Linked DNA regions of Homo sapiens: region 2 is linked to region 1. Evidence: promoter capture Hi-C in 16 types of primary human blood cells and fetal thymus (Javierre and others, 2016). All regions are on one chromosome and are shown on one strand. The core of a region is centred on a gene start or on the middle of the fragment in contact, and the rest is flanking DNA. Distances in the headings are between cores, read along the strand shown.

Evidence for each region. Contacts are between HindIII fragments. The CHiCAGO score rates a contact against its expected background, and 5 or more counts as called.
Region 2: a contact is called between the fragment with the promoter of GRB2 here and the fragment with the promoter of UNK in region 1, in 4 of 17 cell types (total CD8 T cells, naive CD4 T cells, naive CD8 T cells and 1 more). The highest score is 6.3, in total CD8 T cells.

What each region holds. Positions count from the first base shown.
Region 1 is chr17:75,783,371-75,789,334 of GRCh38, reverse strand. UNK (unk zinc finger) reads right to left here and starts at 4,529. Exons shown (of 16, transcript NM_001080419.3): 1 at 4,351-4,529. The coding sequence starts at 4,454. MIR4738 (microRNA 4738) reads left to right here and starts at 4,728; the gene lies at 4,728-4,814. RefSeq lists enhancers at 3,279-3,856, 3,868-4,267, 3,857-4,435 and a silencer at 4,328-4,467. The HindIII fragment of the contact is 1,873 bases long and covers 3,203-5,075 here.
Region 2 is chr17:75,401,698-75,407,160 of GRCh38, reverse strand. GRB2 (growth factor receptor bound protein 2) reads left to right here and starts at 1,483. Exons shown (of 6, transcript NM_002086.5): 1 at 1,483-1,672. MIR3678 (microRNA 3678) reads right to left here and starts at 1,092; the gene lies at 999-1,092. RefSeq lists a silencer at 1,246-1,425. The HindIII fragment of the contact is 6,780 bases long and covers 1-5,463 here.

The sequences.
Region 1 (5,964 bases), core at 3,280-5,779:
ATGTGGTTCTTGTATTGGAAGAATAATAATACATATACATTATCGTTTTACTAAGTGCTAAGCAAATACTTGGAGCTGTACAATAAAGGAACTTCTGACATAACTGTTTTCTAAAAGGACTGGATTCCTAAGTCCAGCACAAGTGCCTGCTACACCAATTTGCTGAAAGGATTATTCCAAAGTTTCCCTTAAAGCAAGATTATTCAAGAGTTTAGAAAAAAAAAATCAACAAAATTATCCTTTAAACTATGTTATGAATAATCCTCTTGGTTTAGGAAAAGGAGGGCTCAAACTCTAAGAACTTTAATTTCAGCACAAGAATGAAGGGCAAGAAAGGGAAACCAATGGCAACATAATTTTTTGCTTTTAGTGTATTCAACTGTGTTTGCCAAGATTACTGTTATGGTGAGTGAGACTCAATTATCACACAAGTGTCTCTGGATTATTGCAAAGACTACAGCATGTTACCTAATTTCAAATAACATCAGGTATAAAACTATACAAAATTAATTAATGTATAAGAAAGTCCAGGTGAGGTGGCTCACACCTTCTCAGGCTCACGCCTTCCCATGCCACTGTACACCAGCCTGGGTGACAGAGCAAGATCCTGTCTCTTGCTCTGTCCAACCAACCTGGGTGACAAAAATAAATTTAAAAAAAAAATTAAAAATAAAAATAAAAGTGGCTGGGCGCGGTGGCTCACACCTGTAATCCCAGCACTTTGGGAGGCCGAGGCGGGCAGATCACGAGGTCAGGAGTTCAAGACCAGCCTGACCAACATGGTGAAACCCCATCTCTACTAAAAATACAACTAAATAAATAAATAAAAGTTTAAAAAGGTAAAAAATTTGACAGGCAGACGGGAACAGTGGCTCACGCCTGTAATCCCAGCAGTTTGGGAGGCCAAGGTGGGCGGATCACGAGGTTAGGAGTTCGAGATCAGCCTGGCCAACACAGTGAAACCCTGTCTCTACTAAAAATACAAAAATTAGCCAGCCATGGTGGCGTGTGCCTGCAGTCCCAGCTACTTAGGAAGCTGAAGCAGGAGAATTGCTTAAACCCGGGAGGTGGAGGTTGCAGTAAACTGAGATCACGCCACTGCACTCCAGCTTGGGCAACAGAGTGAGACTTTGTCTCCAAAAAAAAAAAAAAGAAAAAATTGACAGGCAAAAACTTACAAATATTCAAAAGGGGTCTATCTCTGTATTCAAAATGGGATCAATTATTATCAATGATCAATTATTATTCCACTCCGTATGTCCATGTGTACCCACTGTTTACCTCCCAAGCAGCTCAAATTTTCATTTAAAATCAAAATCAAAATGCTCCCGCCCCCTAACTCCCAAGGGCAATAAATGAATTCACCTTATGGGGGTGGAGGGAAGCAGGTATGGTGGTATGTGCCTGTAGTCCCAGCTACTCAGGAGGCTAAGGCAGGACTGCTTGAGCCCAGGAATTCAAGTCCACCTGGTTAACACAGAGAGATCACGTCTCTCTTTTTTTTTTTTTTTGGACCGAGTCTCACTCTGTCACCCAGGTTGGAGTGCAGTGGCACAATCTCTGCTCACTGCAACCTCTGCCTCCTGGGTTCAAGCGATTCTCCTGCCTCAGCCTCCTGAGTAGCTGGGACTGCAGGTGTGTGCCACCAGGCCTGACTAATTTTTTGTATTTTTAGTAGAGACGGGGTTTCCATGTTGGCCAGGTTGGTCTCGAACTCCTGACCTCAAGTGATCCACCCACCTCAGGCTCCCAAAGTGCTGGGATTACAGGTGTGAGCAACCGCACCCTGCCCATGTCTCTTTTAAGAAGAGGAAAAAAAAAAAAAAAGCTGGGTGTGGTGGCCTCCCAGCACTTTGGGAGGCCAAGGCCCAACAGTAGATTGCTTGCGCCTGCTCGATCACAGGAGTTCGAGACTAGGCTGGGCAACATGGCAAAATCACGTCTCTACAAAAAATACCAAAAAAATGTATCCAGGTGTGCCTGTAGTCCCAGCTACTCAGGAGACTGAGGTGGGAGGATCACTTGAGCCAGGGAGGTCGAGGCTACAGTGAGCTGAGATGGTGACACTGCACTATAGCCTGGATGACAGAGACCCTATCTTAAAAAAAAGAAAAAGAAAAATCAGAGCCAGCAAGTGTGCTGGTTCCATCATATGTGTCCTCATGCTCCCTGCACCTCAGCCCTAGGAGGACTAGGGGATGAAGTTTTCCAGGTCATCACAGCTTCTGAATGCTAGTAAGTCTAGCAAGAAAGACCACTGATTTCTATCTCTGATTTTTGGAAATACAAATATAAAAACACACATACATATGAACAGACAAAGAGATAAGAACACCTACAACCTCCCATCAAGCTTGGCTATTTCACCTACTCCTGTTGATTTCCTAAGACACCTCAAGAGCCAGGTCCCATTACTCTATACTTACCCACAAGGAATGGAAAGGCAGGCTTTTTTTTTGTTTTTGTTTCTGTTTTTTGAGACGGAGTTTTGCTCTTGTCGCTCAGGCTGGAGTGCAGTGGCACGATCTCGGCTCACTGCCACCTCCGCCTCCCGGGTTCAAGCGATTCTCCTGCCTCAGCCTCCTGAGTAGCTGGGATTACAGGCGCCCGCCAGCACACCCAGCTAATTTTTTGTATTTTTAGTAGAGACGGGGTTTTGCCATATTGGGCAGGCTGGTCTCTTCACTCCTGACCTCATGCGATCCGCCTCGGCCTCCCAAAATGCTGTGATTACAGGCGTGAGAGCTACCACGCCCGGCAGGAAAGACAGGTTTTAAACAAATGAGCATCAAGAGGACAAAGACTCAGATACTGACATTTAATCAGCTGTTCACTTGTTTCACCTGTCAATTCCAAAATAAGAAAGCCTTTCTATTACAGATTCCATAGTATGCTCAATGACAACACAACACAGAAACACAAGTTGCTGAAGCCAAGACTCTCGTGACTCAAAATGTGTTTATTTTGCTAAAAACAGTGATCTGAGCAACCAGAGATTATAAAGAAGTTCCAATTACGTGAAGTTTCCAGATTCGAAAATCAAGACTACACCATTCAACTCATCAGTAGTCTTTGAGCTAAGAACATCTCACCAAAATCAATGGAAAGACTGCGAAAGATCTCCAGTAAGAAAGGACCAGGAAAGCAATGTCCATATCAGAAAAGGAATGGTTAACGTGAGTCAGACTGTAGTCAAGAAGCTTAAATGATTTCAGCCAACAACAAAGAATCCCACAAAGAAACCATACACTTCCTATAACCAATGTTCCCCAACCCCAGAACAGTTTCCCAAGGTCTTCTATAACAAGAGTTCCTCCTGACTGGTTTGAGTTCTTTCTACTCCAACAGATGATTCTGTTCTTCGTTCACTGAACAACTTAAGAGCTGTTCAACCCCCCAGGTTCCAAAACCTCTCGCAGCTGGGGATCCTTTTAAACATGCACATCACTCAGGAGCCCATGGGGATGAGAGGCATTCACAGAGCATCAGGGAAAATGGAAAGCAACATTTTGCTTAACAGGAGAAACCGCCCCTTATTCATCTTTCTCCCACATCACCTAACTCTAGGGAATGCTTAACGTGGCTTGAAGGAAATGAAGACAGCGACCTAAAAGCACACAGATGCAAGACTTCCAGGAAGAGGTTTTCCCATCCTGCTGGACTCCTGTAGTGTCAGTATTTGGGGCTCCCTCTAATGCTACATTTCTGCTGAGCCTGCAGACATACTTGGAACCCATCACCTTCGGGCTCCCAGACTCAGGCTCCGCACAGCCCGCGAGGGAAACGGTCATGGGCACGCACGGACACGTTTCCATCTTTGCATGTTTATCTACGTCGACTGTGAATTCAAGCAAGTGTGGCCCTCGTGGACAACCTACGAGCCTTAGGGACACAAAAGGCTTCCTGCGCAAACTGCACGGAATCTCCTGACAGGACTTCACGTTAATCATCATTCATAGGTGGGTTCTGGGGCTGGACCCCACGGAACTCCTCTTGGTTGTGTCTTGGACTTCTCACTGCCCCAAAGGAGCCTACTACTGTGGTTTTATGGTCTGAGGAACAGTTAGGCCTCGAAGGCCTGGCCTAGGGAGAGTGCACTCTGCATCCCGAGCTCCCGCCTTCCCCACTCGGCGGCCGGGACCGAGTTTCCCGCCCCACAGCCCGACCAGAGGTTGGTGGCAGTTGGAGGCAGTTGGGACCGGCCCCAGCAGGTTGGAACCGGTCTGGGCCGGGCCGGAGGAGGAAGGGGGGGAGGAAGAGGCCGCCTCGCGCTCTCCCTGCGCGCGTGACTCACGCTGGCCGCTGACGTCAGGCGTGCGCGCGCGGCGGGGGGGGGGGGGCTCTACGTACGTGTAGTGCTGCGGTTTCTCGGGCTGTGCCTGCAGCACCTGAGCGGTAGCGGCCGGGGGCGCCGAGGAAGCTGCGGAGCCGCCGGGCCCGGGGCCCTTCGACATGGTCTTGTCTTCCTGCCTCTTCGCCGCTCCCCTTTTATTATTCAGTCTGCGCGGTCCGCGCCGAGGACCCAGTGCGCCTGCGCCGCGCCACGAGAACGTGAAGACCCCCCACACGGCAGCAGGGGTTGCTGGGAGTTGTGGTTCTATGTCCGGCTGGAATTTTACCGTCGGCAGAGGGTTGCTGGCAAAGCACAGGACCACAATACCCAGGGATCCTTGCTGCTAGTGTCCCGGATGCTGAGGGCCTGCGACGGCTTCTGGGAATTGCAGTCCGGTCGCATTTCTCCTTCTTACCAGCGCGTTTTCAGTTTCATAGGGAAGCCTTTCCATGAAACTGGAGCGCCTGGAGGAGAAGGGGCCCAGAGCTAGGGAGGCCCTAGCGATTTCTGCGAAAGAGTTCCAAGTATAATTTCACTGCCAACAGTGTCATAACTACTTTGCCTTTATACTTAGTACAGCTAGGTTCGGTTCTAATGCCAGCTCAGAGCAGTGCTCCAAGCAGGGCTTAAGAATCTGTGTTGTCGGTTCTTAGTTCTGGGCCCTGTGCTGCAGGCACCTGCAATCCGCCAGCAACCCCTTCATCCCTGCGGCGGGTCTAACCTAAGAGGCATTGAGAAAGCTTTGCTAAGGAGGAGGTACACCGCACGCTACAGTTCCCGCGCCTTTGCCGAGGCGCTTCATTTACCTTTGCCAAACTCGACACCTGGAACTCCACGACTTGTGTGCTTTCTCAGCCTGACACCTGGCCTGACCAACTTGTTTCCAGTACATTAAGGGCCAAGGACGAATTTAATCTCCGCCTAGAATAGTCTCTGAGGTACACTGACAAGTTGCCAGTGTTGAGAAGCATCACAGGGTCCAGAGGAAAGGCCTGGGTTTGAGTAGGGCGTGCCCGTATTTATCCACTCTAGTTTTCTTGTCTGGACGTCAGCCTTTTTACTTGGGACATTATCTTTCCCCTCTCTGCTTCCCACCAGTCAAGCAAAGTTCTTCACTTTATAAAATAAGCCAGATGCCCCAGACCTAGGCATTTGTTTCTGTGAGTTTTAGAATGTTCTCCGTAGATATTTTAACCGTTGTCATTTAATTTGGTTTTTCATATTGAATCTATTTCAAATCCACTGGTTTTGATTTATATTTTCTTAGATGGGATTATATTAACAAATGATTATCTCATTAAAGAAACACATTCCAAATAACCTTAGGGATGAAGGGTGGTGGGGCTAATGGAAAATCGTTAATGTTTGAGTGACACATACTTATTTTATTTAGCTCCAAGTTCCCTCACATCAGAAGCCACATCACAGAGTTGAGAAACTGGTTTTTCCTAAACAGGCTAAATCGTTTAGCCACTAGGGGCGTTTGAAAATGAAAAATTACAAAAGGACAAATAAAAGTTGTAGTATATTGCTTTAATCCTATGATTAAACGCAAGTTACTTGGTTTATGTTAGCCTCACAATACTCAAGTGTGATCTGACTGAAGAAATAGAGTTCACAGCACTGGATTT
Region 2 (5,463 bases), core at 234-2,733, 380 kb after region 1:
TGAGGCAGGAGAATCCCTTGAACCCGGGAGGCGGAGCTTGCGGTGAGCCAAGATCGCGCACCATTGCACTCCAGCCTGGGCAACAAGAGCAAAACTCCGTCTCAAAAAAAAAAAAAAAAAAAAAAAACAAAAGGCTGATTCCATTACTCTTTCCTCTTTCCTCCCTGCTTTCACTTTGCCGTTCAAACCAAATCCTTCTTGATTAGCTCAGCACCAAGTACTGGCTCCCTCCTCAGCCATCCCTATGTGTAGTTCAGTGGCACTTGGGGCCAACTGCTTGTCTTACAGATTAGGCAACTCTAGATTACAAAGCACTGAAAGCAGGGGCTTCATCTGGTTGGTCTTTGACCCTGCAGAGCCCCTTGCACACAGGTGATGCTCAATAAATACTTGGTGAAAGCACAATTCATTTTCTGTGTTTCAATGGGCTTCTTTTCTCTATAGAATCAGATGCTTGGTTATTCTCACCTCAGCGCTATTTTGTTGGCTTCCAGAAGGCACAGTAACGCTAGGTGTGTTGTGTTCTATCCTTTAATTGGAAGAGCTTTGGGAACTGAAAAATAAGAATTATTTCTCCAAGCCTCATCTTCTGCCACTCCCCCGTACTCACCGGCCTCATACAGGAATTGAACTACTTAGCACTGCACAGAACACGACTTTCTCTCTCACGCCTCCGTTCCTCTGTACTTAGCCTCTGTACTTACGTGCCATTCCCTTTCCCTGAAATGCCCTTACTCTGGCTTCTCTGCCTGGCAAATTCCTACTCATCCTCCAAGACTCAGATCAGACATCGCCGCATCACATCTGTGAAGGCTCTTCTGCAATGGGCAGTGTAGCAGTACCCCCTCCATTTTTTTAGCTTCCTCAGCAAACTCCAAATAATTATAACAGTACTTATGGCATTATTTGTTTATTTTTCTTCTACTTCCTAGACCGTGAATTCCTTAAGGGCCAAGATTTCTGTTCTATCCCCAGCACAGTGTTCGGCCTATATTGGAGAATCCGGTCCGTACAAACTCTGCAGTGATTCAATCAATGAGCAAACAAACTCACCAATCATTCAACACAGCAGAGTTTGTACGGACCGGATTCTCAAATATTTTAAGACCTGGTCCTCTATTTGGAGTGCTTCATTCTGGAAGATCTCTTCCTCCCCCAAGCCCCTACCCATCCAACTGCCTAGGTTTGGTAGAAGAGGAAAATAAAGTGATTAGACGGGGGAAGAGTCCTTCAGGGCTAAGCTGTCATTTACCCGCTCTGGCACCGAGAGGGTTACGGCGACCCGGGGGCGGAGCCGTGCGGAGGCCACCTGCTGCGGGGAGGTCTGGCGCATGCGCCCTGACACCTAGCTGGTTCCCTACCCGCAGGGGCCCGGCTGAGGAGGAGCGCTTGCGCTCTGGGCCTTTTCCGCCGGGGGAAGTCTCGCGGGGGCGGGGCGGGGCCTCGTGGAGAAGTTCTCGCGGGACACCGACGGGGAGCGGAAGCCAGGAGGTATTGCTGCTTCGGCGACCGGGCGGCGGCAGCGGCGGCGGCGGCTGTGGCAGAGTCTGTGCCTGTGGCGGTGACGGCGGCGGGAGCAAGCGCTGCCCTCGCAGAGCAGCCTTGGGGTCGCCGGCCGCTCGCAGCGTTGTGGAGGGGCGGGCCGGACGCTGAGCGGAGCAGCTGCGCCACGGTGAGTACGGGAGGCTGCGCTCGGCGCCTCTCTCGTGCCTTTTCCTCTTGGCTCTACAGCGGGAGTGGGCCCCGGGGGAACCGGGACCGGCCCCGGGGTTCGCGTCGGGGCGGCGAGGCTTGGGACGTGGAGCGCAATCCCCGGGGCTCCGGACTCTACGTTTCCCCTTTTGGGGCGCTTCCTTCCTGGGGACCGTCCTCCTCCGGCTCTTGGCTCTGGGCAGTCCGGGGGAAGAGGTCGGGGTTCTCTGGCGAGGTCCCCTGCCTTCATCGGGAGGGTTTGCACGGAAGGGGCCCGGGAAGCCCAGGCGGGCCGAACGCCGACCGAGTCAGTCTACCCGAGCCTGGCGGCGGGGGACTGGTGTGGGCTGCAGCTGTGGTGATTGATGTGCCTTCGACCTGCACGGCAACCACGTCACCATCTCCTGGCGTCTTTGGGCTTAATTTTGTGCGGGAATCCACTTTGGGGTGGAACGTTTGCTGCTGGAGCCGGGGGAGATACCTTTATTCTGACACTTAAAAAAAAAAACTATTTGAAAAATATTTGTCAAGAAAAATTCAGCAGTAGCAGGTTGGACTGCACCGAGGAAGGATTGCGGCGAGAGCGGGCGCTGGTAATTTTCATTTGCAGCGCGCCCTCTCTATGATTGTAAGCCACACATGAGTTATGGCTTGTTTAGAAAGTTTTTCAAGGCTGGCTTCAAACGCTGTGAAAGTGCAGTTTGCAGGGGACTGAAGTGCACTTGAGGTCTGTCTCTTTTTGATGCTGTTGACTTTCCGAAATGTCAGACACATGAGAGAAATTAGCATTAGTCTATTTTGGCTTTCTTACTCCTCTTTCTCCAGTTATTTCCTTCCTTCTCTATCTGCTTCTGTCCTTTCCACTAGGGACACGAAATGCTTGTGTAATGCAAGTCATTTGCCCCTTCCTCCCCCCACCCCCCCCTTTTTTTCTAATGTACTTCCCCTTCCTCCTTGTAGTCCCCACTCTGGCGTAATTTTTCGAGGTTTCTTCCCTTTCGTGCTGTTCGTTTTCTCTCATTTCAAGATTCCGTCTTTTTCCTCGGGAAGAGACTCTCTTTCCTTGCTTTCGTTCCTTTACTTTTGCGCGTCCCCTGCGTTCCCTGCAGTCAGCCAGAAGGGTTGCTAGAGAGCCGTGGGAGGCTGAAGTCCCCTCTCTGAGAACGGGGAGGCTCAAAAGATTGAATTCATCCCTAAGAAATCAGTCCTGCCACTAGGTCGCAAGTGTGGTTTGCTTGTATTATTTTTGTCTTTTACTCTTTTTCTTTTAAGATTATGCTTCTGTGCCTGCTTATGTTTTCTTCTAGTATGTCTTTATAATAGGAAGATTGGGTCAGCTCAGTGACTTTTTTTTTTTAGGCAGAGTTTTGCTCTTTTTGCCCAGGCTGGAGTGCAATGGTGCTATATGGGCTCACTGCAACTCTGCCTCCTGGGTTCAAGCGATTCTCCTGCCTCAGCCTCCCGAGTAGCTGGGATCACAGGCGCCCACCACCATGTCCAGCGAATTTTGTATTTTTAGTAGAGATGGGGTTTCACTGTGTTGCCCAGGTTGGTCTTGAACTCTTGACCTCAGGTAATCCACCCGCCTTGGCCTCCCAAAGTGTTGGGATTACAGGCGTGAGCCACCGCGCCCGGCCAGAGTTAATTCTTATAATCAGCTTTCTTCTACTAAACACAAGCATTTATTTATTTATTTTATTTTTTTGAGACGGAGTCTCGCTCTGTCGCCCAGGCTGGAGTGCAGTGGTGCGATCTCGGCTCACTGCAGCTTCCACCTCCTGGGTTTAAGCGATTCTCCTGCCTCGCACTCCCGAGTAGCTGGGATTACAGGTGCTCACCACCACACCTGGCTAATTTTTGTATTTTTGTAAAGACAGAGTTTCACCATGTTGGCCAGGCTGGTCTCGAATTCCTGACCTCAAGTGATCTGCCCATCTCAGCCTTGGGATTACAGACATGAGCCACTGCGCCCGGCCTGAACTCAAACGTTTAAATGTTTGAGGCACTTTACTTCGTCAGCAAGTTATTCAGATTTGAGAGGCTTGCTGGGTTTTAAATACTACTGGTTGATGGTACTTAGAGATTCTTCTCAGTAATTGCTGTTATCATGTTGCATGTTGTCCATCAGAGTTCTAATTGTTACACATACAACAGAAGAGGAATGGATTTTGGAGAAATGAAGTAATACAGAATAGAGAGTCACCATGCCCTCCGGAGAGAAATTAATACTTGCTTAATTCAGAGGAACTCTCCACCATTACTGAATGGCTTTTGAGAGTCTGTATATATATATATATTTATATATATATATATTTTTTTTGGTCAAAGTTGCCTTTTTCCTAGTTGTGCCAAGTGAATACGCATTATTTTCTTTTTCCTTTTTTTTTTTTTTTGAGACAGATTCTCGCTCTTGTTGCCCAGGCTAGAGTGCAGTGGCACGATCTCAGGTCACCACAACTTCCACCTCCTGGGTTCGGGCAATTCTTCTGCCTCAGCCTCGCTAGTAGCTGGGATCACAGGCATGCACCACCACGCCTGGCTAATTGTGTATTTTTAGTAGAGACAGGGTTTCTCCATGTTGGTCAGGCTGGTCTGGAACTCCCGACTTCAGGTGATCCACTCACCTCAGCCTCCCAAAGTGCTGGGATTACAGGCGTGAGCCACCGCGCCCGGCCAATATGCATTATTTTCATTTCATGCAAGGACATTGTAGTGCATTATCTGGAATGCAAATTTTAAAATCTGGTTAAGGCATCCTTATGGTATAGCAGTTATTTAAAATTTAGTATCCATAAAAATCACTGGGAGATCTTTTTAAAATTAGGTTCTGGTAGAACTCCAGGATGTACCCCACAGTGAATCAGTCTCTGAATGGGTGGATTTTGATACAGATGGTCTAAGGATCAAAACTGTTGTTACCAAATGCAGCCATAAATAATAAGACTGCTGTGTGGCTTTAAGTAATTCAACTTAAAATTACATTTTTCTGTGTATACACAAAGTCAGTATTTAGAATAGCCTAATGGAATGAGTGACTATAAGCATGATTCATTTTTACATGTGTAAATTTTTTAGCATTCTTAATACTGTGATGTGGAGTGATTTAACTTGAAATTTATACTTAATAGGGTCATTAATTTGCCTACCAGAGAATTCTTCTGAGTCTGTAGACTCAGACGAAAGATTTTTCAGCTTTACAGTGGTGTGAAAGCAATAGCGCTCAGTAAAAACTATACTTCCAGTACCCATATAACTGTTTTGTTTTTCACTCTCAGTACCATAGTCAGTAAATTACAGGAGATATTCATCACTTTGTTATAAAATGGGCTTTGTGTTAGATGATTTTGCTTAACTGTAGGCTAATGTGTTTGGAGCACATTTAAGGTAAGGTAGGCTAGGCTAAGCTGTGGTGTTTGGTAGGTTAGGTGTATTAAAATGCATTTCCATGTAACAATATTTTCAACTGATGATGGTTTCATCAGGATATCTGCCTATGCAGATGGAAGCTCCACATTTACTCTTAGAACATGTAGGCTAGTATTTGAAAAGAGACTGAAAATACTAGTTAAGGTCTCTGGCTTATACTACATTATAATAATAAAATCATCACAGCCCACACTATAGTGGATAATTAGTTAGCTCAGTCTTTTGGAGAGAGCCAGAGACTTCTGCCAAGCATTTTACAACCATTATCTCTTTTAATTATCAAAATGACTTTATAAGGTAGTTGGCTGTTATTATTCCCATTTTCCAGTTAAGGGATACTAGGGA